Regions from separate parts of the Homo sapiens genome. Here all the other regions are linked to region 1. The links are contacts of gene promoters, found by promoter capture Hi-C in blood cells and fetal thymus (Javierre and others, 2016). All regions are on one chromosome and are shown on one strand. The core of a region is centred on a gene start or on the middle of the fragment in contact, and the rest is flanking DNA. Distances in the headings are between cores, read along the strand shown.

What was found. Contacts are between HindIII fragments. The CHiCAGO score rates a contact against its expected background, and 5 or more counts as called.
Region 2: a contact is called between the fragment with the promoter of CYP20A1 here and the fragment with the promoter of INO80D in region 1, in 9 of 17 cell types (total CD8 T cells, total B cells, non-activated CD4 T cells and 6 more). The highest score is 11.7, in total CD8 T cells.
Region 3: a contact is called between a fragment that was not itself captured here and the fragment with the promoter of INO80D in region 1, in 1 of 17 cell types (total B cells). The highest score is 7.0, in total B cells.
Region 4: a contact is called between a fragment that was not itself captured here and the fragment with the promoter of INO80D in region 1, in 1 of 17 cell types (monocytes). The highest score is 5.3, in monocytes.
Region 5: the fragment with the promoter of CTLA4 here is called in contact with the fragment with the promoter of INO80D in region 1 in 6 of 17 cell types (naive CD8 T cells, total CD4 T cells, activated CD4 T cells and 3 more); the score reaches 12.1 in naive CD8 T cells.
Region 6: a contact is called between a fragment that was not itself captured here and the fragment with the promoter of INO80D in region 1, in 3 of 17 cell types (non-activated CD4 T cells, total B cells and total CD8 T cells). The highest score is 6.6, in non-activated CD4 T cells.
Region 7: a contact is called between a fragment that was not itself captured here and the fragment with the promoter of INO80D in region 1, in 1 of 17 cell types (M2 macrophages). The highest score is 6.1, in M2 macrophages.

Annotation. Positions count from the first base shown.
Region 1 is chr2:206,084,736-206,087,628 of GRCh38, forward strand. INO80D (INO80 complex subunit D) reads right to left here and starts at 1,439. Exons shown (of 11, transcript NM_017759.5): 1 at 1,166-1,439. INO80D-AS1 (INO80D antisense RNA 1) reads left to right here. Exons shown (of 2, transcript NR_186084.1): 1 at 1-13; 2 at 1,222-2,769. RefSeq lists silencers at 170-464, 366-415, 456-655, 676-845, 926-1,135 and enhancers at 1,186-1,475, 1,202-2,021, 1,526-1,575, 1,586-1,695. The HindIII fragment of the contact is 4,007 bases long and covers 1-2,531 here.
Region 2 is chr2:203,237,586-203,240,478 of GRCh38, forward strand. It overlaps CYP20A1 (cytochrome P450 family 20 subfamily A member 1), which reads left to right and starts at 1,433. Exons shown (of 13, transcript NM_177538.3): 1 at 1,433-1,549. The coding sequence starts at 1,478. RefSeq lists enhancers at 1,134-1,183, 1,469-2,040, 1,864-2,153 and a silencer at 1,254-1,463. The HindIII fragment of the contact is 4,599 bases long and covers 316-2,893 here.
Region 3 is chr2:208,322,566-208,325,458 of GRCh38, forward strand. It overlaps PIKFYVE (phosphoinositide kinase, FYVE-type zinc finger containing), which reads left to right. Exons shown (of 42, transcript NM_015040.4): 18 at 1,577-1,717; 19 at 2,346-2,472; 20 at 2,705-2,893. Among named protein-coding and RNA genes, the nearest start is that of PIKFYVE, 58 kb to the left of the region's middle. The HindIII fragment of the contact is 5,563 bases long and covers 1-2,893 here.
Region 4 is chr2:208,299,698-208,302,590 of GRCh38, forward strand. PIKFYVE (phosphoinositide kinase, FYVE-type zinc finger containing) reads left to right here. Exons shown (of 42, transcript NM_015040.4): 9 at 1,240-1,397; 10 at 2,545-2,656. Among named protein-coding and RNA genes, the nearest start is that of PIKFYVE, 35 kb to the left of the region's middle. The HindIII fragment of the contact is 2,548 bases long and covers 146-2,693 here.
Region 5 is chr2:203,866,292-203,869,184 of GRCh38, forward strand. CTLA4 (cytotoxic T-lymphocyte associated protein 4) reads left to right here and starts at 1,480. Exons shown (of 4, transcript NM_005214.5): 1 at 1,480-1,760. The coding sequence starts at 1,652. The HindIII fragment of the contact is 240 bases long and covers 1,347-1,586 here.
Region 6 is chr2:208,275,614-208,278,506 of GRCh38, forward strand. It overlaps PIKFYVE (phosphoinositide kinase, FYVE-type zinc finger containing), which reads left to right. Exons shown (of 42, transcript NM_015040.4): 4 at 1,099-1,217; 5 at 1,924-2,095. Among named protein-coding and RNA genes, the nearest start is that of PIKFYVE, 11 kb to the left of the region's middle. The HindIII fragment of the contact is 177 bases long and covers 1,309-1,485 here.
Region 7 is chr2:203,911,517-203,914,409 of GRCh38, forward strand. No RefSeq gene overlaps it. Among named protein-coding and RNA genes, the nearest start is that of ICOS, 24 kb to the right of the region's middle. The HindIII fragment of the contact is 3,373 bases long and covers 1-2,893 here.

The sequences.
Region 1 (2,893 bases), core at 189-2,688:
GGGATGAAAGGGGGTGGGTACTCAAGCTGAAAATAACACCCCCAGTTGGTGGGGTAAGGGCTAAAAAAGGCAATAGGGAAAGATTGTCCGGCAGAAACACCACCTGAGTTTACCTCCTCCTTCCCACCCCAAAAACCCAGTCACTAACTAATAAAGCTAAGAAAAGCCCCTTGCAAACTTTTCCAAACCGGAAGAGAAGGCCCTCTCCCCAACCTGGGGGGCTCTAGGGGGAAGGGGCTGGAGTTAGCAGCCCCGAATGGGCTCGCGGGGAGTTGGGTGGGGCGCGGGCGAGGGGTGCAGGGGCGGAGTACCTTCTTCAATGGACAGGAACTGGCAAAGAGTTTCAAAATAGCCGAGTGCGCTCCCCCACGCCCTGGGGGGTCCCGGGCGCTAGGACCAGGGCTCCCCGGAGAGACAGCGGCCCCCAGTTCGGGCCTAAAAGGAAACTTTCTGGGCCGCGGCTGCACCTGACTCCTCACCGCCCCTCCACCCGACCCCACGCCCGCCAGGCCGCCCGCCCCGCCCCGCCCCGGCCTGGCCGTCCGGAGCGCGGAGGAGGGGGATAAATAAATTCAACTCTTACCGGAATCTGGGGGCCGTCTGCGAGAGACCCGGGGGAAGGGGAGCCGGGCGCCCATTCCCCACTCCCCACTCCTAGGCCCTGACGCCCCTGTCCCGGCAGCCCGGGCCTGCCGCCCCGCGGGAAAGCCTCCGGGCCGGCGCGGGATTCGGCCCAGCAGCGCCGCCGTCCCACCCGGAGACCCCGGGGGACTCGAGGGGGCGCGCGGAGGCCCGGGGTGCGGGGGCAGGGCGCGGCTGCCGTGGGGCCTACCGGCCCGAGGCCTACCGGCGCCCCCCCCTCCCGCCGCACACCCCCACCTGGCCCGCGCAGGCCGCTCCGCTCGCCCCACTCCGGCTCCGGCTGGACCCCTGCCCGCCCGCCGTCGCCGCCCGCGGGCGCCCCGGAGGCCCTCAGGCCCCCGGCCTCCACCACCCGGGCGCCGGCCCCACTCACCCTTTCATTCTCCGCCCGGGGCCTGGCGTGGGCCGGCGAATCCCCGGCCTCACGTAAGCGCGCTCGCCGCCCGCCCAGCCTGCGCGGCCCAGCCCGCCGCCCTACGGGAGCCCGGGGATGTGGGCCGGGCCTGGGGCCGCCTCTGCTTACCTTTCAGCTGCTTTTTTTTTTCTCCTTCCCCCCTGTTCCCTCGGCTGGGCTGACAGATCAGAGTGAGAGGCGCTGGCAATGGACTAGGAAGCTCGGCTGCCGCTGCTACTGCTCCCCCCTGGGCTCCGGCGAGAGCCTTTCCCTGTCAAGCAAGAGGGGTGAGGATCATATTTTTATTTTGGAAACTAAAAAGTGCTCCCAGGGTCGGTGATTATTAAGGGGAAATCCCTGAATATACTCTCCAGCCAAGAAGGCAGGGCTGCCGGGGCTGTACAAGAAGAGGCAGCAGCCTCCTACAGCACCACTACAGGCACTGCGAGGACATAACACCAGAGAGCTGCTCCTCTGCCCTCCGAAACGACAACTTTCCTACCATCTTGGAGGCAGAGCAAAGGGGGGCCAGGGGGAAAAGTGCACCCGCTCCCGATAAAGTACAAATTTTTACTTCTCATCTCTGGAAAAAAGTCCACACCGGCCGTCTACACCCGCGCCTGGGGGAGAAAGCAGGGAAGAAACGGGGGGTGCATGAGAAACGTTTTCATTTGCTCCAGGGGGAAAAATGTTTCTGCATCTTCTGATGGAAAGAAATCTTTACAAGACACAGGTTTTCCGGTGGTTATTGTTTTTTATTTTCTGTTTTTAATTTTTTTCATGTTAGTGACAGTGATATTTTAATATTTTTTTAAGCCAGTAATAATTTTTCTCCATTACAGGGCTAAGTTCTGTGGCTGGTGGTCAGTTTGTAAATTTATACTTAAAGAGACTTAATAGTAACTTCATTTATTTGTCTGGTTATGTTATTGTATATATAAATATTTATGTTTTCATATATTGCATATAAAAATTTGTGTTACATGTTACTCTCAGAACAGATTGCTGTAAGACAATTGTAAAAAAACATGTCTTTCGTCTGTTTCTCAAAGCAATGTAAATAAAACCTATGGACTGTCCAGAAAGGCATGATACAGTGTGTCATTTTCCACAGTGCAGATAAAGGCAGCTATCACTGGGGATTTAAAAACGGCCCCTGTTTCTGGAAATTCTGTTATGCTGCCCATACAGAAAGGATACAGTAAAACTGGAAAGAGATTTTAAAGACAGCCTTAGATTTTTCTTGAGGTAAAATAGCTTATTAAGAATTATATCCGGGCATTTAATTTTTTTATTTATTTAGATTCTTTAAACTCTAGCTAGATCTTTGGTGCATTACACATGTTGCTATCTGCTTTTTGTGTCACAGAATTGAGAAATGTGGCTATTTTTGTTAGTTATGTTAGTTCAGAACTTCCAATGTGCTGCCAGCCTGTATGATAGACTTTTTGTATATTGCAGTGGATGTCATGAATTTACTTTTTTAAATGAGCAAAGCTTACTAGATAAATGGGATCAGAGTTAAACAATGCTGTTAGCACAGAGGTGAGAGGGACAAAGGGTACCCATTTACATCGATTCCAATAGAACGCTTATTGGAGGATAAATTGCAGAGACATTTTTCTATTTTTGTGAAGAAAGAGAAAAATAATAGAAAAAGAACCGACTATCTTTGTATGTTCTACTGGGGATGATGATTTAAATCTTGTATTAAAAGTTATTTTTCTAACACATGTTGACTAACCTGGCAGGAATGAATTTGTTATATTAGTGCCCTGAATCAGTAGAATATTTAATTTCTTTGTAAAATTTATTACACAACATTTAGAAATAACTTCCAAATTTAGAAATTGTCCT
Region 2 (2,893 bases), core at 183-2,682, 2.8 Mb before region 1:
CTTGACATTTTATATTATTAAAGCTATAAAATCTATAAATACTTTTAGCACACTTTCACTAAAAGCAGCACTAGTAAGTAGCAGGCCTTGTCTTGTATTTCAGTAGCCACGTCAAAACTTCTGAGCCAGGCGAAATAGAAAGAGGGGTCCTAGGGTATTTTATGCCCAGGGCAACAAACGCCAAATGCTGACGTAGATAGCACTTATTCGGTTTTGCCAGGAGCTGTGCTAAGTGATTTTCATAAAATATGTAATTTAACCTACAGGCAACTCCATGTGGTATTATTTTCACTTTTTTACATAGAAGGAAATGGAAGCTTAGAAAACTGAAGCAATTTACCGAAAGTCAGAGTTAACAGAGCAAGGAAACCTGAACAGTGTGCAGCCTCCGCTCACCAGAAAGTGTCAAAGAATCACATTTACTAGTACTTCAGACAGAAATTCTGCGAAACAAGGCGTATCTACTCTTGTTTTACTCCCAGACACTTCCCTGTCCCGCTTAGATCAGTGGTGGTTTTCACTCAAATTTAAGTGTGTAACAGTGTCCCCGGGAGGGCTCTGTTCAAACAGATTGTTGTACGCGCCCCCTACCCCTGCCCACCCCGAGTGTTTGATTCAGTAGGTCTAGTTTGGGATCGAGAATCTTTTTATTTTGTTTTCCTTTTGTTTTGTTTTGTTTTGTTTTTGAGACAGGGTCTCGCCCTGTCGCCCAGGCTGGAGTGCAGTCGTGCCATCTCGGCTCACTGTAGCCTCTGCCTCCCCGGCTAAAGTGATCCTCCAGCCTCAGCCTCCGGAGCAGCTGGGGCCACAGGCAAGCGCCACCACTGTAGGCTAATTTTTTTTTTTTTTTTTTTTTTTTTTTTGTAGAGACTGGGGTCTCACTATGTTGCCCACGCTGGTCTCAAACTCCTGGGCTCAAGCGATCCTCCCGCTTCAGCCTCCCAAGGTGCTGGGATTACAGGTGGAGCCACCGCGCCCGGCATCGATAATCTGAATCTCTAACGAGCTCCCGGGCGACGTTGATGCAGCTGGTACCGGGACCACTCTTCGAAAATCATCGGTTTAGAGGTTTTAATTCTGAATCCATTGCGAAAACTGTTGGGCGGACAGAGCACTACTAACTCCTAACTTTTCTCAGAAAGCTGGGCTCTGCTTTCGCCAGCAACCCGGTCCGAAGTCGCGGGCATATTCTGTCTGAAATCGTGTGCACCGAAATCCCCGCCTTGCGGTGGAGGCTGGCGCTAGGCGGCCTCAGCCTCGGCCTGCTGCGCTCAGGAACCCGCGCCCCGGCTCCTCGGCGATCCATTGCTCTTTCCTCTGGCGCCGGCCGCAGGCCTCGGTCACGCCCCCAGCGGCCCGTTGGTTTCCGGGTCCCGCGGGGTGCCCCCGCCCACACGCTATGCCTTAAATTGGGCCAGGCTGAGGCGCTGCTGCTGGAGCGGCCGATCCGAGACGTGGCTCCCTGGGCGGCAGAACCATGTTGGACTTCGCGATCTTCGCCGTTACCTTCTTGCTGGCGTTGGTGGGAGCCGTGCTCTACCTCTATCCGGTGAGCGCCGTCTTGGCTCTCTGGGGCCCCGGGCGCCGCCCCAGTCTCTCTGTCGCCGGCATCCAGGCCAACCTGCCCGCTGCGGGCCGCAGGGGGCGGGCCTGAGAGGAGGGTTCGGGTTCGCTCCAGAGCTTCAGCGCGGGGACCGCACCCGGAGTCACGTGACGCCCCTCCCGGCAAGCTCTGAGAGCGACGTGGGCTGCGTCGCTACCCCTCAGGCGCCGGGCCAGGCGGGCGTAGAGCTGCTGAGGAAAAGCCCGCGCCCCCGCAGGCCGGTCTCACCTTGCCAGGCACCCCGCGCCACTCTCCAAGGCGGCTCTCAAGTACTTTGGGCAGCTTTTTGGCCATAACTCGCCAAACCCAAATTTCATTTCCCAGTGTGTCAGGACGAGACTCCTGGGCGCGCCACTCCTTTCTCCTTTCTTGAGGATTCTCCCAGCACTTGTGTATTCCTCTTTTCCATCTGTCCATCGATCTATCCTGACTGGAATCCAAAGTGCTCGAGGTCCAGGTCTTGCTCCTCTTAGGGGCTCCAGGCAAATGCTTCTTTGGGGAGAGCGCCGCGCTGCGGGTTCGGGTGCGAGGTTTCCTCTGCCGCTGACGCCTCTGCGAGCCTCCGGTCCTCCTCTCTCCACTTGCCTCCGTCAGCGAGAGAGGGAGGGTCTGAAAACAAAAGTGTTGATGACTGAGGACCGTCTTTAAAACCTGTTCTACACACTTTGGGAGGCTGAGGCGGGCGGATCACGAGGTCAGGATATCGAGACCATCCTGGCCAACATGGTGACACACCGTCTCTACTAAAAATACAAACATTAGCTGGCTGTGGTGGCGGGCGCCTGTAATCCCAGCTACTCAGGAGGCTGAGGCAGGAGAATCGCTTGAACCTGGGAGGCGGAGCTTGCAGTGAGCCAAGATCGCACCACTGCACTGCAGCCTGGCGACAGAGCCAGACTCTTATCTCAAAACAAACAAACAAACAAACAAAAAACACCTGTTCTACAAAGCAAGGTGGTGGTTTTACAGTGAAAGTTGAAAAGTAGCTGAACTGCTGGAATTGACCATACACCTTCTTAAATGTTCTTTTCCGAGCAGGTAAATGGATTAGACTAGAATCTTGCAACTACACAATCAGGGACTTCCTGAAATCTTATTTTCTGAGAAACTAAACAATTTTAGTGGTTCTTGAATTTTTGGTGATTTTAAAATGATACTCTTCTTTGATCAGCTCATAGAAGCACACTGTTTATTCTTAGCACTAGCTATGTGCCAGATATGGTTCCACGTGCTGGGAATCCAGCCGTGAAACAAACCGGACAGAAAATTCCTGACTCTTGGAATTTATTT
Region 3 (2,893 bases), core at 181-2,680, 2.2 Mb after region 1:
CAGCATAATCAAGTTTAGAATGATGAATGAGATTCTTACTGTGTTTGCATTAATTTGCTTACAGACTTATTTGTGGATGAAGAAAATTTAGTCTAAGATTGATAATAGTCAAGCTATCTTGATATATATATATATATTTTTTTTATTACACTTTAAGTTCTAGGGTACATGTGCACAATGTGCAGGTTTGTTACATATGTATACATATGCCATGTTCATGTGTTGCACCCATTAACTTGTCATTTACATTAGGTATATCTCCTAATGCTATCCCTCCCCCCTCCCCCACCCCATGACAGGCCCCCGTGTATGATGTTCCCCTTCCTGTGTCCAGGTGTTCTCAATGTTGAATTCCCACCTATGAGTGAGAACATGCGGTGTTTGGTTTTTTGTCCTTGTGATAGTTTGCTGAGAATGTTGGTTTCCAGCTTCATCCATGTCCCTACAAAGGACATGAACTCATCCTTTTTTATGGCTGCAGAGTATTCCATGGTGTGTATGTGCCACATTTTCTTTTTTATTTTTATTTTATTTTTTATTTTATTATTATTAGTAGTAGTATACTTTAAGTTTTAGGGTACATGTGCACAATGTGCAGGTTAGTTACATATGTATACATGTGCCGTGCTGGTGTGCTGTACCCATTAACTCGTCATTTAGCATTAGGTATATCTCCTAATGCTATTCCTCCCCCCTCCCCCCACCCCACAACAGTCCCCAGAGTGTGATGTTCCCCTTCCTGTGTCCATGTGTTCTCATTGTTCAATTCCCATGTATGAGTGAGAACATGTGGTGTTTGGTTTTTTGTCCTTGCGATAGTTTACTGAGAATGATGATTTACAATTTCATCCACGTCCCTACAAAGGACATGAACTCATCCTTTTCTCTGGCTGCAGAGTATTCCATGGTGTGTATGTGCCACATTTTCTTAATCCAGTCTATCATTGTTGGACATTTGGGTTGGTTCCAAGTCTTTGCTATTGTGAATAGTGCCGCAATAAACATACTTGTGCATGTGTCTTTATAGCAGCATGATTTATAATCCTTTGGGTATATACCCAGTAATGGGATGGCTGGGTCAAATGGTATTTCTAGTTCTAGATCCCTGAGGAATCACCACACTGTCTTCCACAATGTTGAACTAGTTTACAGTCCCACCAACAGTGTAAAAGTGTTCCTATTTCTCCACATCCTCTCCAGCACATGTTGTTTCCTGACTTTTTAATGATTGCCATTCTATCTGGTGTGAGATGGTATCTCATTGTGGTTTTGATTTGCATTTCTCTGATGGCCAGTGATGATGAGCATTTTTTCATGTGTCTGTTGGGTGCATAAATGTCTTCTTTTGAGAAGTGTCTGTTCATGTGCTTCGCCCACTTTTTGATGGGGTTGTTTGTTTTTTTCTTGTAAATTTGTTTGAGTTTTTTGTAGATTCTGGATATTAGCCCTTTGTCAGATGAGTAGATTGCAAAAATTTTCTCCCATTCTGTAGGTTGCCTGTTCACTCTGATGATATTTTAATATGTCCAGATACTGCATTTTACCAGGTGTAATATTTCTGATTTATCTTACTTAGGAAAGGGAATTCTTGAAGAATTATGTCCAGCGAATAGTTGATGTTCGACCCACCTTGGTTCTTGTTGAGAAAACAGTGTCTCGGATTGCCCAGGACATGTTATTGGAACATGGCATTACTTTGGTCATTAATGTAAAGTCAGTGAGTGTTTTTAATTTTCTATTGTATTTTAAAAAAATCACAGCTTTTAAATTTATATGCACGTATGGTAGGTATACAAGAATCTTTTTTTCTTTGCTGTTCTATTTGTATTGAAAGTGGGACAGAAGATATGGCACCTATTTCATTAAGATTCAGAATTTCAGACTGGAACTGGAAGAAAGTATAATTGATTATGTAATACTTATTGGTGTCTACAAGACCAAAAGTGAAATGGACATTAGTTAATCACTAGGTATTTGTTGATCCTTCATTTTTGTTGGAGAATTGCTCAAGCAGAAGACGTTCTCTCCCTTGAAAAGTTTACCCTGTGCAGAACAGGGGCCAATTCTAGGAAGTTGTTTTTCTCCCCACATTATCTTGTGGTAATCCATGATGCTTAAGTGCATTTTTATAATGTTATTAATATGAGTAAGGTTTCAGTGGGCATATATTGATTACTAAGCAACTAAGTGTAGAAGAATCCAGAATAAAAAAATTCATCATATATTTATTAAAAAGGAAATTTGTGAATGTTATTTTTTAATTTTTCCATTACTTTTCCAGATTAAATTTACAAAGATTTTTATTCTTCTCTAGTTTTGTAATACAATGTTTTTCTGTTTTGTAGCAAGTTTTGGAACGAATCAGTCGAATGACCCAAGGTGATTTAGTGATGTCAATGGACCAGCTGCTTACGAAACCACACCTGGGCACTTGTCACAAATTTTATATGCAGATATTTCAGTTGCCTAATGGTGAGTGATCTTTAGCATAGATTGACCTGAGGAAAAGAGTTAACTTATCACTACTACAATGTTTACTTACTAGGAAATACCTATTAATAGTGGGTAAGTGAGGATAGGCAACTGTGATCTTATTCATGTAAGAGTTTTTCTTTTACAGATATTAAGAGAGTGAATTAATTCTATTTGTACTTCTGGATTGCCACCTCCACCATCTTAACTTTCTGTTTGTTTTTGTTTGTAGAACAAACCAAGACACTGATGTTTTTTGAAGGTTGTCCACAGCACCTAGGCTGTACAATCAAGCTAAGAGGAGGCTCTGATTATGAGCTGGCTCGAGTTAAGGAGATCCTAATATTTATGATCTGTGTTGCTTATCATTCTCAACTAGAAATATCCTTTCTCATGGATGAATTTGCTATGCCTCCCACAT
Region 4 (2,893 bases), core at 170-2,669, 2.2 Mb after region 1:
TTATACACATGTAACACTTTTCAGACATTTAATACTATATGTTTATATGAAATAATCAGTTGCTTATTGAATTTATCTGTGCATAAAATACTGTGTTCAATTCTAAGAGTGACTCAGAGAAATGGAAGGTATGGCTGTGTCCTCAAGCTTATAATTCAAAAGTAGAAATAAGAGCCAGGTGTGGTGGCATGCACGTGTAGTCCCAGCTACTTGGGAGGCTAGGGTGAGAGGACTCTTGAGGCCAGGGGTTTGAGGCTGTAGGGTGCTGTGATCATGGCTGTGAATAGCCACTGCACTCCAGCCTGGGCAACATAGCAAGACCTTGTCTCTAAGACAACAAACAAACCAGCAAACCCACAAAAGGTAGAAATAAGATCAGTGGGAAGATCCTTAATAGTGGAAGTAGTAATACTTTAATAATAAAAAAGTGTCAAATAAATAAATGACTATATGTCATGTAAGAATTCAAAAAAACAGAAAGCTCATTACTAATGAGGGAATCAGAAAAAGGCTTAAACTGAAGGACTTGAACTGGACCTTGAGAGATGGAATCATTTTGGATAGGCAGTGAGGAAGGTGAATCTTATTTAAAGGTGTGAAGAAAGATACAGAGGTAAGAATAAGCATGACATTTTCCATGGCCAGAAGTAGGATTTTTTAATTGGGAGAGAGTTTAAGTAGGAGTCTGGGGGCAATGAGAAAGGAAAGTTATTTGGGACTACCTGGTGGAAGGCAATGAATTCTGTACTTACAGGTGTAGATTTGAAACTTTAGTTGCTGAGGAACATTCAGAATTTTTTTGAGCAGGGAGTAATTTACTGAAGCTCTTCTTTTTAAAAAACTCATCTGTCAGTTGGGTACACAGTGAGAATCTGGTGGAGTGAAAGCCTCTAGGAACAGTTACCTTAGGTTAGTGTGATTAACTGTTGTCTCCCTCTGCCTTGCCCCATCTCCAAAGAAGAATACATAAATAGGAGATTGATAATATGTGCCATTGACTGAAAAAAGAAGTATTTGGAATAGTTGGTTTTCAAGAGAAAAAGTTATGTTTGGAATTAGATGAGCAGAGTTCAAGCTGTTCCCACGTATATGACATTTGTATTAAATTGTGTGAGTTAGCTACCATAAAGAAATCCAAGTTAGGTTTCCTTTTATGAGTCTAAAAATCACAGGAAAACATCTGAAAAGGTATATAGCATTTTTCTCAAGGGTAACTACTTGCTGTTAATGTGATTGCAGGACAGTGTGCAGTTAAAAGACCTGTGGAAAAAAATCTGCCATCACAGCAGTGGAATGGAGTTTCAGGATCACCGCTACTGGTTGAGAACGCATCCCAACTGCATTGTAGGAAAGGAATTAGTCAACTGGCTAATCCGAAATGGGCATATTGCCACAAGGTATTCTGATCTTAGAAGGTTTCAATATTATTTGTTTATTTTGAATGAGAAAACATATTTGAAGATAGTAAGAGTTACAGATTTCTTTGTAGAGTTAGGGTGCTCTTTGTTTTATGTAATTGATGGTTTAGGGTGCTAATTACTTAACCCTCCTCCAATCTGAGTTTTAACCAGCAGAGAACAGATGCAAGGAGTACAAGGAGCCAAATAGGATCTTAATTTACCTTATTAAAAGCAGAAGAACTCTCTAGCAAAGGAGGATTAGAGAAGGTAGCTGGAACCTAAGGCCAAAGAATTCCCCAGCTACTGTTCACTAATCTAGACAGGTTGTAACCTGTGTTGAGTATTTGATCCATAAGCTATGCCTGTCGGGTCCTAGCTTGCCTCACAAATCATTTATAAAAAAGAGTAACAGACAGGTCCTGCTTTTCAAATACATGTATCCCCTAGCTTTTACTATTTTCTCAGATTAGCTACTCCTCCTCTCATGGGAAGAAAAAGGTACGTAATGAAGTAAAGAGAGAAATAGCTTTAAGCAGTAAAGCCCTGGTTGCAATTTTGGCTGTATATATTTTTTAGCTTTGTGCTTTTAGTCACATTATTCAATCTCTGAGACTTCTTCACCATGAGGAAAATTGTGTGGTCCTGTGAATAAACTGTGGGGGATGAAATAATAGTGGCTGAAGTGCTTTATAAATTGTGAAATGCCATATAATGTATGGTGTCATTAAGTGTCTATTTCATATATATATATACACACACACACATTTTATGGCTGTATCTGTAATATTTGGTATTGTCTTATTAAAACTAAGCTCCTTGAAGGTAGGAGCTTTTCTCAACATTTTAAAATCTGTTAAGTATAGGGTTGTGCGTGCATTGAATACTCAGTCAATGCTTGCTGTTATTAAAATTAGGTTTTGTTGGGACTGCCTTACCAGTAGTTTCTTCTCCTTTACTATAGTACCTGGAAGAATCTTTTAGTTTGCTTTAACTCTCTCGTTTCGTCCTTTACTTATCCAAGGGCCATTTGAAATTCTAACTCTGATTAGAACTGAAAAAAAATATTTTAAGGTTGTGTCTTATCTGGTACTTAACTATTCTGACTGACTTTTAAAACTTTTCATTTTTGTGGGTCTTGATTCAGGGCACAAGCTATAGCAATTGGACAAGCAATGGTTGATGGACGTTGGCTGGATTGTGTTAGTCATCACGACCAGCTTTTCAGAGATGAGTATGCGCTGTATAGACCACTGCAGGTACTTTTCAGTGTTTACTGCCAATTAGAATGTAGCAAGCTTATTTTATAGTCTTTCTTCATCAGTGGGAATAAAAAGTAGTTTATTAGAAGATGATTTTTCTAACATTTTTTCCTGCTGTTTGAGGAAAGTTAAAACTTTTTTTACTTGGTAGGCAGCAGTGATGAAAAAGCTGCCATTAGAATCAAACATTTTATTGTTTACTTTAAATTTGATCAGACAATAAAAAAGGAAAAA
Region 5 (2,893 bases), core at 230-2,729, 2.2 Mb before region 1:
TGTTGCCCAGTCTGGCATTAGGAAGTGCCCATTAGGTTGTTATTGCTTGTTGGCGCTTGAGCTGGGGCTTGAAGGTTTCTATAATGTGTAGCAGTGTATAGAAAACAGGCAGGTCAGAAAAGGCTTCTGTGCATCACACCAACATGGCACATGTATACATATGTAACAAATCTGCATGTTGTGCACATGTACCCTAAAACTTAAAGTATAATAATAATAAAATTTTAAAAAAAAAAAGAAGAGGCTTCCTGGAGGAGATGACAGCTGAGCTAAGTCCTGGAGGATGAGAAGGAGTATAAAATAAGATAATAGGAGAAAAAAGGCAGTAGGAACAGCATGGGTAAAGGTGATGAGGCCTGAAAGAGGCACGTGGAAGGAAAGACAAATGCAGGAAGGGGGAATGGGAGGGAATGCTGGGGTACAGGCCAAAGAGGGAGGCATTTGGTGAGTATTCTGCAGAGTCTCCTCTGCTGTGCTGAGGTGTGGACAATGGGAAACCATGGACGGACTGGAGTAGGCAAATGTCATATTCCCTGTTACAACTGTCTGTTTGCATGTCAGCCTTCTAGAAGCCCCTTAAGGTATCAACTATGTTTTTGTTTTGTCATCATTCAATCCTAAGTGCACAGAATTCCGGGCATATTACAGGTTCCCCATGAATGTTTCTTTCTTTATTAAAATGTATGAAAACTCTCCAGATTTAAGGAAGGTCCTCAATGTTTCAAATTCTTTTTGTTAGATCATTGGTCCTGTCTACAGCTGTCACAAATTTAAGGACTCTGGTTATATTTAATCTTCACTTTTGAATTTTCTGCTTGAAAAATTTGTATTAGAAAAAAAAGTCTATCCTTTTATGGACGGCTCTAATCTCTTGAATCATTTGGGTTGGCTTTTCTTTGGACCTTCTTCAACTCTGTTTTGTCTCTGTTGAGTTAAGGCTTTTAAGAACACCTGAATTCTTTCCTTCTGCAAAACCAGAGGCAGCTTCTTTTCCGCCTATTTTCAGTTTATTTCTTGTGATTTTAGTTTTTTTCTCTTAACCAAATGCTAAATGGATTTAGGAGAAATAAACTTATTTGTAAAGCTGTCAAGGGACCATTAGAAGGATGGTGCTTCACAGATAGAATACAGTTTTTATTAATGATGCCTAGACAAATCCTGCCATTAGCCCAAGGGCTCAGAAAGTTAGCAGCCTAGTAGTTTTGGAGTTGTCAATGAAATGAATTGGACTGGATGGTTAAGGATGCCCAGAAGATTGAATAAAATTGGGATTTAGGAGGACCCTTGTACTCCAGGAAATTCTCCAAGTCTCCACTTAGTTATCCAGATCCTCAAAGTGAACATGAAGCTTCAGTTTCAAATTGAATACATTTTCCATCCATGGATTGGCTTGTTTTGTTCAGTTGAGTGCTTGAGGTTGTCTTTTCGACGTAACAGCTAAACCCACGGCTTCCTTTCTCGTAAAACCAAAACAAAAAGGCTTTCTATTCAAGTGCCTTCTGTGTGTGCACATGTGTAATACATATCTGGGATCAAAGCTATCTATATAAAGTCCTTGATTCTGTGTGGGTTCAAACACATTTCAAAGCTTCAGGATCCTGAAAGGTTTTGCTCTACTTCCTGAAGACCTGAACACCGCTCCCATAAAGCCATGGCTTGCCTTGGATTTCAGCGGCACAAGGCTCAGCTGAACCTGGCTACCAGGACCTGGCCCTGCACTCTCCTGTTTTTTCTTCTCTTCATCCCTGTCTTCTGCAAAGGTGAGTGAGACTTTTGGAGCATGAAGATGGAGGAGGTGTTTCTCCTACCTGGGTTTCATTTGTTTCAGCAGTCAAAGGCAGTGATTTATAGCAAAGCCAGAAGTTAAAGGTAAAACTCCAATCTGGCTTGGCTGGCTCTGTATTCCAGGGCCAGCAGGGAGCAGTTGGGCGGCAGCAAATAAGGCAAAGAGATAGCTCAGAACAGAGCGCCAGGTATTTAGTAGGGGCTTCATGAATGCATGTGAGTTGGTTTAGTAGAGAGACACAGGCAATTTCAGACCCTTCTATGAGACTGGAAGTGATTTAAGAGGGAAAGGATAGCCATAGTCCTGAATACATTTGAGCTGGGTTTCAGGATGAGCTCACAAGTTCCTTTAAAAAAAATTGACTTAAGCAAATCCTGGGAAGAGTTTTTTTGCTATACAATTCAAGGTTTTAAGGTCCTCGGATTCATATACTTTATAAATGAATTAGCCAGCTTGTTTAAAATGTAGGGAAATTGTGGGAAGAATGCCTTCTTTACTTAATTCAAGGTTTTAAGGTTCTCTTAATCAATTCTACTAGCTAATTAGCCAATTATTTAAAAATAAAAGTTTGAAATTGCCAAAAAAAAAAGACAAGGAAAAGGAAAGAAAGAAAGCCACCAGTCTGTTTGGCATACAATACTTAATTGTTGCCTGACCTACGTGTGGGTTTCAGATGCAGATCCTCAGTTTTCAGCTCTTCAGAGACTGACACCAGGTTTGTTACACGGCTTAAAATGATGAGTATATCCATTGAATCTCAACCTTATCTCTCTCTAGACCTTCTTGGTTAAGAAACCATGTAGTTTGTATGAAGTAGGTACTCAAAAGATATTTGATGATTTAATTTTTACTGGAGAAGAAATATTCATATATGTTTTCTTATTTTTACATGTTTTAAATATGTAAAGATTAAATAAACACTCTTAGAAGTATTTAAATTTCCTAAAGTAAATTTATCTCAACCAGTAACAGGACCCTCCCAATACTGGAAAGTTGAGTGTGACCGCATTTAGTGGTGATGAGTGTGAGCTTGCTTGGGGAGAGGGCAGGACATTTAGGATTTCTTAAGCTTAGAGTCAATACAATAAAGATTATTGAGTGCTCACT
Region 6 (2,893 bases), core at 147-2,646, 2.2 Mb after region 1:
GTAGTTACTTCAGTGATTACATTATCTTGGGAAATTCTTTGTAAACTTTAGATCCCAACCTCTCATTTCTTTGTAATTCTTTTTTTTCCCTCCCAGCCAAAACAGCACCTATCTAGCAAATGGTGAGTTTGAGGAAGATTCAGAGTGGGGTATTTTCCAGTTTACTTTGCCATAGGTTATCAGTTTGATGGGTTTAAGCTAATAGGATGTTCATCCTTTTTGTCAAAACGTCTTTGCTTCATGCTTAGGTTTTGTAACTGCCAGAAATAGGCAGAAACTTCAGTTGTAATTTTGGTCTAAATTAAGGAAATAATAAGTGACAACTTTGGTGGGCATACCCTATTTTGGCCATGAGGCTGGAATTTGGGCTTATTAGTGATAGATTTGGCTTCAGTATTGCTATGTCAGGTATAAATGATCCTTTCCTATTTGGAGCTGTGGGGTTGGGGAAGTGACAGGGAAGGATAGGATTGGAGTTTTAGCAATTTTCTGGCAGTTTTAATTTGCTTGGACATAGGTCAGGTTTTACCATGGCAAAATTTGCCATCCTGGATGTTGTGAAGTCTGTCAGAATCTTTGAAGGCTGGGCTATTAAACTTCTTTCTGATCATCTTCTGTATGAGACTTTGGATATATGGTCTACAGATATAGACAGAACTGAACTGTTTGATCCTATTGCTTACCTGTTTGACTTTAGAGACCAAGCTAAGTTAACCCTCCTTGATTGCTTTTTCTTCTGCTAAATTTCTAGCATGCATTTATTATAGGTTGGACCAAAGGGCTTAAGGAGTCATTAATGAATTTTGGACCATTTAAGTGATGTTCCCATTCCAGGCCTGAAAACCATCAATGGTCTCAGACAATGCTTGTCTTAGGCAGCCTTGACTCGCTTGTAAAACAGCATTTTACATGAGAAGAAATACTTTCAGTAGCCTCTTACCCTTATAAAGACTTGTTTTAACTCTCAATTCATATAACCGGGTGGGAGAACATAATTATATGCCAACAATAAGAGGCAGTTTCCATCACATATATACCTTGTTGTATATAGATACTAGGGACTGTTAACAAGGTTGCTTTTTTTTTAATCCAACTCAGACACAAGAAGGAAAGCAGAACCTACCTTTGGAGGTCATGACCCTCGTACAGCTGTTCAGCTTCGAAGCCTCAGCACAGTATTAAAACGCCTCAAGGAAATCATGGAGGGGAAAAGCCAGGTACTGTCTAGAGGCTTTGGAAGATTACTTATTAAGCGCTTATGGGGATCATGCCATACCTAATGAAAATGGCTTAATGCCACTGAAAGAAAGCTTAATTAGCGCTTCCTCCAGCTGTGAGCACCCTATTTTTATACATAAGTTCTTAATTTTATTGTAGTCTAATTTATCAGTTTTTTTCCCGTTATCCTTAGTGCTTTTCGCGTTCTGTTTAAGAAGTGTTTATCTAGTTCAGGGCAGTAGATATTCTCCTATGGTTTCTTCAAGAAGCTTTATTATTTCTGTCAAGTATAGGGGTCAGGCTTCCATTTTTCCTCATGGATGTCCAGTTGGATATAGTACCATTGTTTTTGAAAAGACCATCTTTCACTGATTGCATTATAAATTCCACCGTAAGTCCATATATGTGTGAGGGTGTGTCAGGGCTCTCTTTTTCTGTTCCATACCTTTATTTTTTTCTATCCTTGTACCAGTACCCTGTCTAAAATTATTGTAGCATTAAGAATAAGTCTTGATGGCTGGTAATATTAAGTCCTTCAATTTGTTCTTCTTCAAGATTGTCTTGGTTATTTTGACCTTTCGTATTCCCATATGAATTTTTGAATTAGTTTGTTTTCTGCAAAAGAAACCTTTGAGGATTTCATTTGCCATTGCATATTAATAATCAGTATTTTCAAGAAGCCTTCACACATTTTTATTGTTATAGGATAGTGACCTGAAACAATACTGGATGCCAGATAGCCAATGTAAAGAGTGCTATGACTGTAGTGAGAAATTTACAACCTTTAGGCGCAGACACCATTGCCGACTATGTGGGCAGATTTTCTGCAGTCGTTGCTGTAATCAAGAAATCCCTGGAAAATTTATGGGCTATACAGGTAAATGCATTTTATTGCCAGTTTACAATTTTTAAAGGTCATAACTATAAGACACTTATAATACAGGATAGTGTTAAGCCAATTTTCATTTTGGGTTTTATGTGTAAGACATGGGGACACAAAGGTGAGGGAGACAGCTTTGCTTTTAAGAACTTTCCTATTGAATAATACAGTAGATGGGACTTATCATAAATAACTAGAGTAAAAGTGTATTTATTGTAGATGCTAGCAAAAAACTATAGGAACATTAAAATTTATTAGACAAGATCGTTAGAGTAGATTACTAATTTAAATCACTATGAGAGTTTTCATTTTAAAAGGACAGATCTTCCTTGACGTAATTACATGACACTGTGCTTTGGCAGTGAATTGTGTCTTACTCAGATTCCTCCATAAGGAACATAGTCAAATTTCAGCAGTACAGAAAATTTAAGTTATTTCTTGAAACAGAAAAAACTGAACAATGGTATGTTGATTTATACAGTGATTTGGGAGTAGAAGATAGTCAGAAATTACCTGAAAAACAAAACTCCTAACATCTCTCTCATGTTATTTTTGTTATTGTGAAGATCTTTCTGTCTGCTCATTTTTTTTTCCACCTAAACTACTACAGAGTTCAGAATCCCATTATCTGTCACCCAGAACCCCATTAGCTTTTACAACAGCTTTTTTGTTTGAAAATTACTTGTATTTCTTTTTTTTTTTGGTAATAATTTCAACTTTTATTTTAGATTCATGTTTGTTACAGGGGTATATTTAGTGATGCTGAGATTTTGCATATGACTGATCCTGTCACCC
Region 7 (2,893 bases), core at 180-2,679, 2.2 Mb before region 1:
CGGAGCTCAAGGCAGCTCACCTCCTGGTGTGTGCCCGGTTCCTAATAGGCCTCAGACTGGTACCTGGGGTTGGGGTCCCCTGAATTAACTGATAATGTAACTTTTAAAAGTGTAGTGGTGCCGGGCGCGGTGGCTCACGCCTGTAATCCCAGCACTTTGGGAGGCCGAGGCGGGCGGATCACGAGGTCAGGAAATCGAGACCATCCTGTCTACGGTGAAACTCCGTCTCTACTAAAAATACAAAAAATTAGTCGGGCGTGTTGGCGGGCGCCCGTAGTCCCAGCTACTAGGGAGGCTGAGGCAGGAGAATGGCTTGAACCCGGGAGACGGAGCTTGCAGTGAGCCGAGATTGCGCCACTGCACTCCAGCCTGGGCGACAGAGCGAGACTCCGTCTCAAAAAAAAAAAGTGTAGTGGTTATAAGCATGGGCTCTGGAATTCTCCTGTGTTTAAATTCTAGATCTTCCATTTAGCAAGCTGTGTGAGGGCCTTACGCCACTTAAACCCTCTTTACCATCTCAGGTTCCCCAGTTGCAAAGCAGGGATGATAGGAACATCTACTTTATCGGGTTGTGTGAGGATTAAATGATTCAGCACATGCAAAGTGTTTAGAAAAGAGTCTGACATAGAGTAAGCTCTCGATAAACATTTGGTTCATTAGTATTAAAAGGTTTTGAAATAAAAAGGGTCTGGAAAATATCGATGATTAAATCCATATATTTTGTTATGAACATGTTCTTTTAAGTCACATGCTTATTATTTTACCTGTAGTATGGTGTCAGCCAGCGCTGTCCAACTGAATTATAATGTGAGGCACACATGTAATTAAAATTTTTGTAGTAGCCACATTAAATAAAAGTAAAAATCACTAGTAACAAGACATATTGACATCATGAGCCCTTTGATAGAATGATCTGAGAAGGACACTTCCGTCTGTGATTTCTCTTGCCAAAAATGCACACACTCATTCCAATCATGAGAAAACACTACACAAACCTAAATTGAGGGACATGGTACAAGATAACAGATCAGTGCTCTTCAAAAGTGTCAAGGTCATGAATGCAAGCAAAGACCGAGGAACCATCATAGATTGGAAGAAACTAAGGGGACATGACAACTACATACAACGTGGTATCTTGGGTTGGATCCTGGGGAAAAAAGGACACCAGTGGAAAAATTGGTGAAATTTGAGTACACTTTGTAGTTTATACTAATGTATCAATGTTAATTTATTGGTTTTGATCATTGTACTATGGTTATGTAAGATATTAACTTAAGGGAAAGCTAGGTGAAGACTGTGGGAACTTACACAATTTTTCCTTTAAGTTGAAAATTAGTTCAAAATAAAATAATTGAAAAGTTAAAAAGAAATAAGTGAATTTAAATATTTTATTTAATGCAATATATCTAAAAATTGCTTTAATATGTAATCAGCATAAAGTTATTAATAAGAGATTTAAAAATTTTGTACTGTCTTCAAAAATCTGGTGCATATTTTACATTGTGCATCTCAGTTTAAACTAGCCACTTCCAAGTGCTCAGAAGCCATGTGTGTGCCAGGGGCAGATGCAGTGGTGAGGACCTCATCCAGGGACCCAGTGACTCCTTGACAGCATTTTTCCGGGTTGGCTCCTTTCCTGACTCTGGTTCTCGTCCTGCCCCCATAAAGCCTTAGTACTCCCAGAGGAGATTAGCCTCTTGGAGGGGTGCTCAGATTAAATTCTGGTAACACTGGTGGCTGGTCTAAGAAAATAATGTCTTAATTTATTAAGAGCATGGTGTTTTCTATGAAATAAAATGCTCATAGACCCAGCAGTTTCTAAAATGTGAGATGGGTAACACCTGTTTTTGGAGGTCTAAGGAAAAATGACTTCAGGTGTTACTTGGATATGGCATTAAATAACATTCACTTACCAAGTGAAAATATTTTTTCTCATTTCGATTCTCTTTTTTTCCTTTAGATTATATTAAAGACCTAGACTCATTTAATGTCTCCCTAACACACTAGGATATATATCTATATGTAGATCTATATCTGTCTCTTCTCTGTTATTAGGATCTGGATAGAATTTAAGGTATTGTTTCTGTTTTATTTATTTTTGTCATTACCTTTTATTCATGGCAAATAATATTGGCTTTCCATTCAATTACTGATATGAAAGTTTTACAATTTATTTAAAATAAAACATAAGGGCACATTTATTAAAAATACAATTATTAAGATAATCATAGTCCAAGCGGCACTGGAAAATAGCAAAAACAAATAATTAACACCAAAAACAAAGAAACAAAAATCATTCAGGGACTATGACAGTGTTTACAACTTGGGGAGATCAATTCTCAGTTTCAGAAATGTCCTCTCATAGAAGCCCCTAGGAAAACAAGCCTGGGTGTTTTCAATAAACCAATTCCCCCTCATTAAATCTTTCCCTAGTAAGATTGCATTTCTTCTCACAGTCCTCTTCTTCTGCTGCTGCTTTCTCTCTCTTCTCCTTTTACTTTATTTTTGTCCCTCTTGTCCTTTCTCTGCTCCCTTTCACTATTTCCGTTTTAACCTCCCTCCCTCTGGCCAAAGTTCGGCTCTCCTCACCCACCAATCACACTGCCGGCCTCTAACTTTGGGCGTAGTACGTCTGACCAATCAGAGTGCAGCATCTGCCACCTTGTGCTTGCGACTGACGTTTTCACAGGACCTGTGTACACACAGGACATTTCCCTGGATATTTTGGAATCCCTTCACGGTTTCTTTGACAATGTTGGTGTCAATTTCTGGGCAATTGGAGGGTACTATTCTCTGTTGAAGGAAACTTTCCCATGTCATTCTACCCTTGACTCCCTTGGACCAGACAGGTGGAGTTTCCAGGTGCATACGGTTCTCGCTATTTTATGCACTG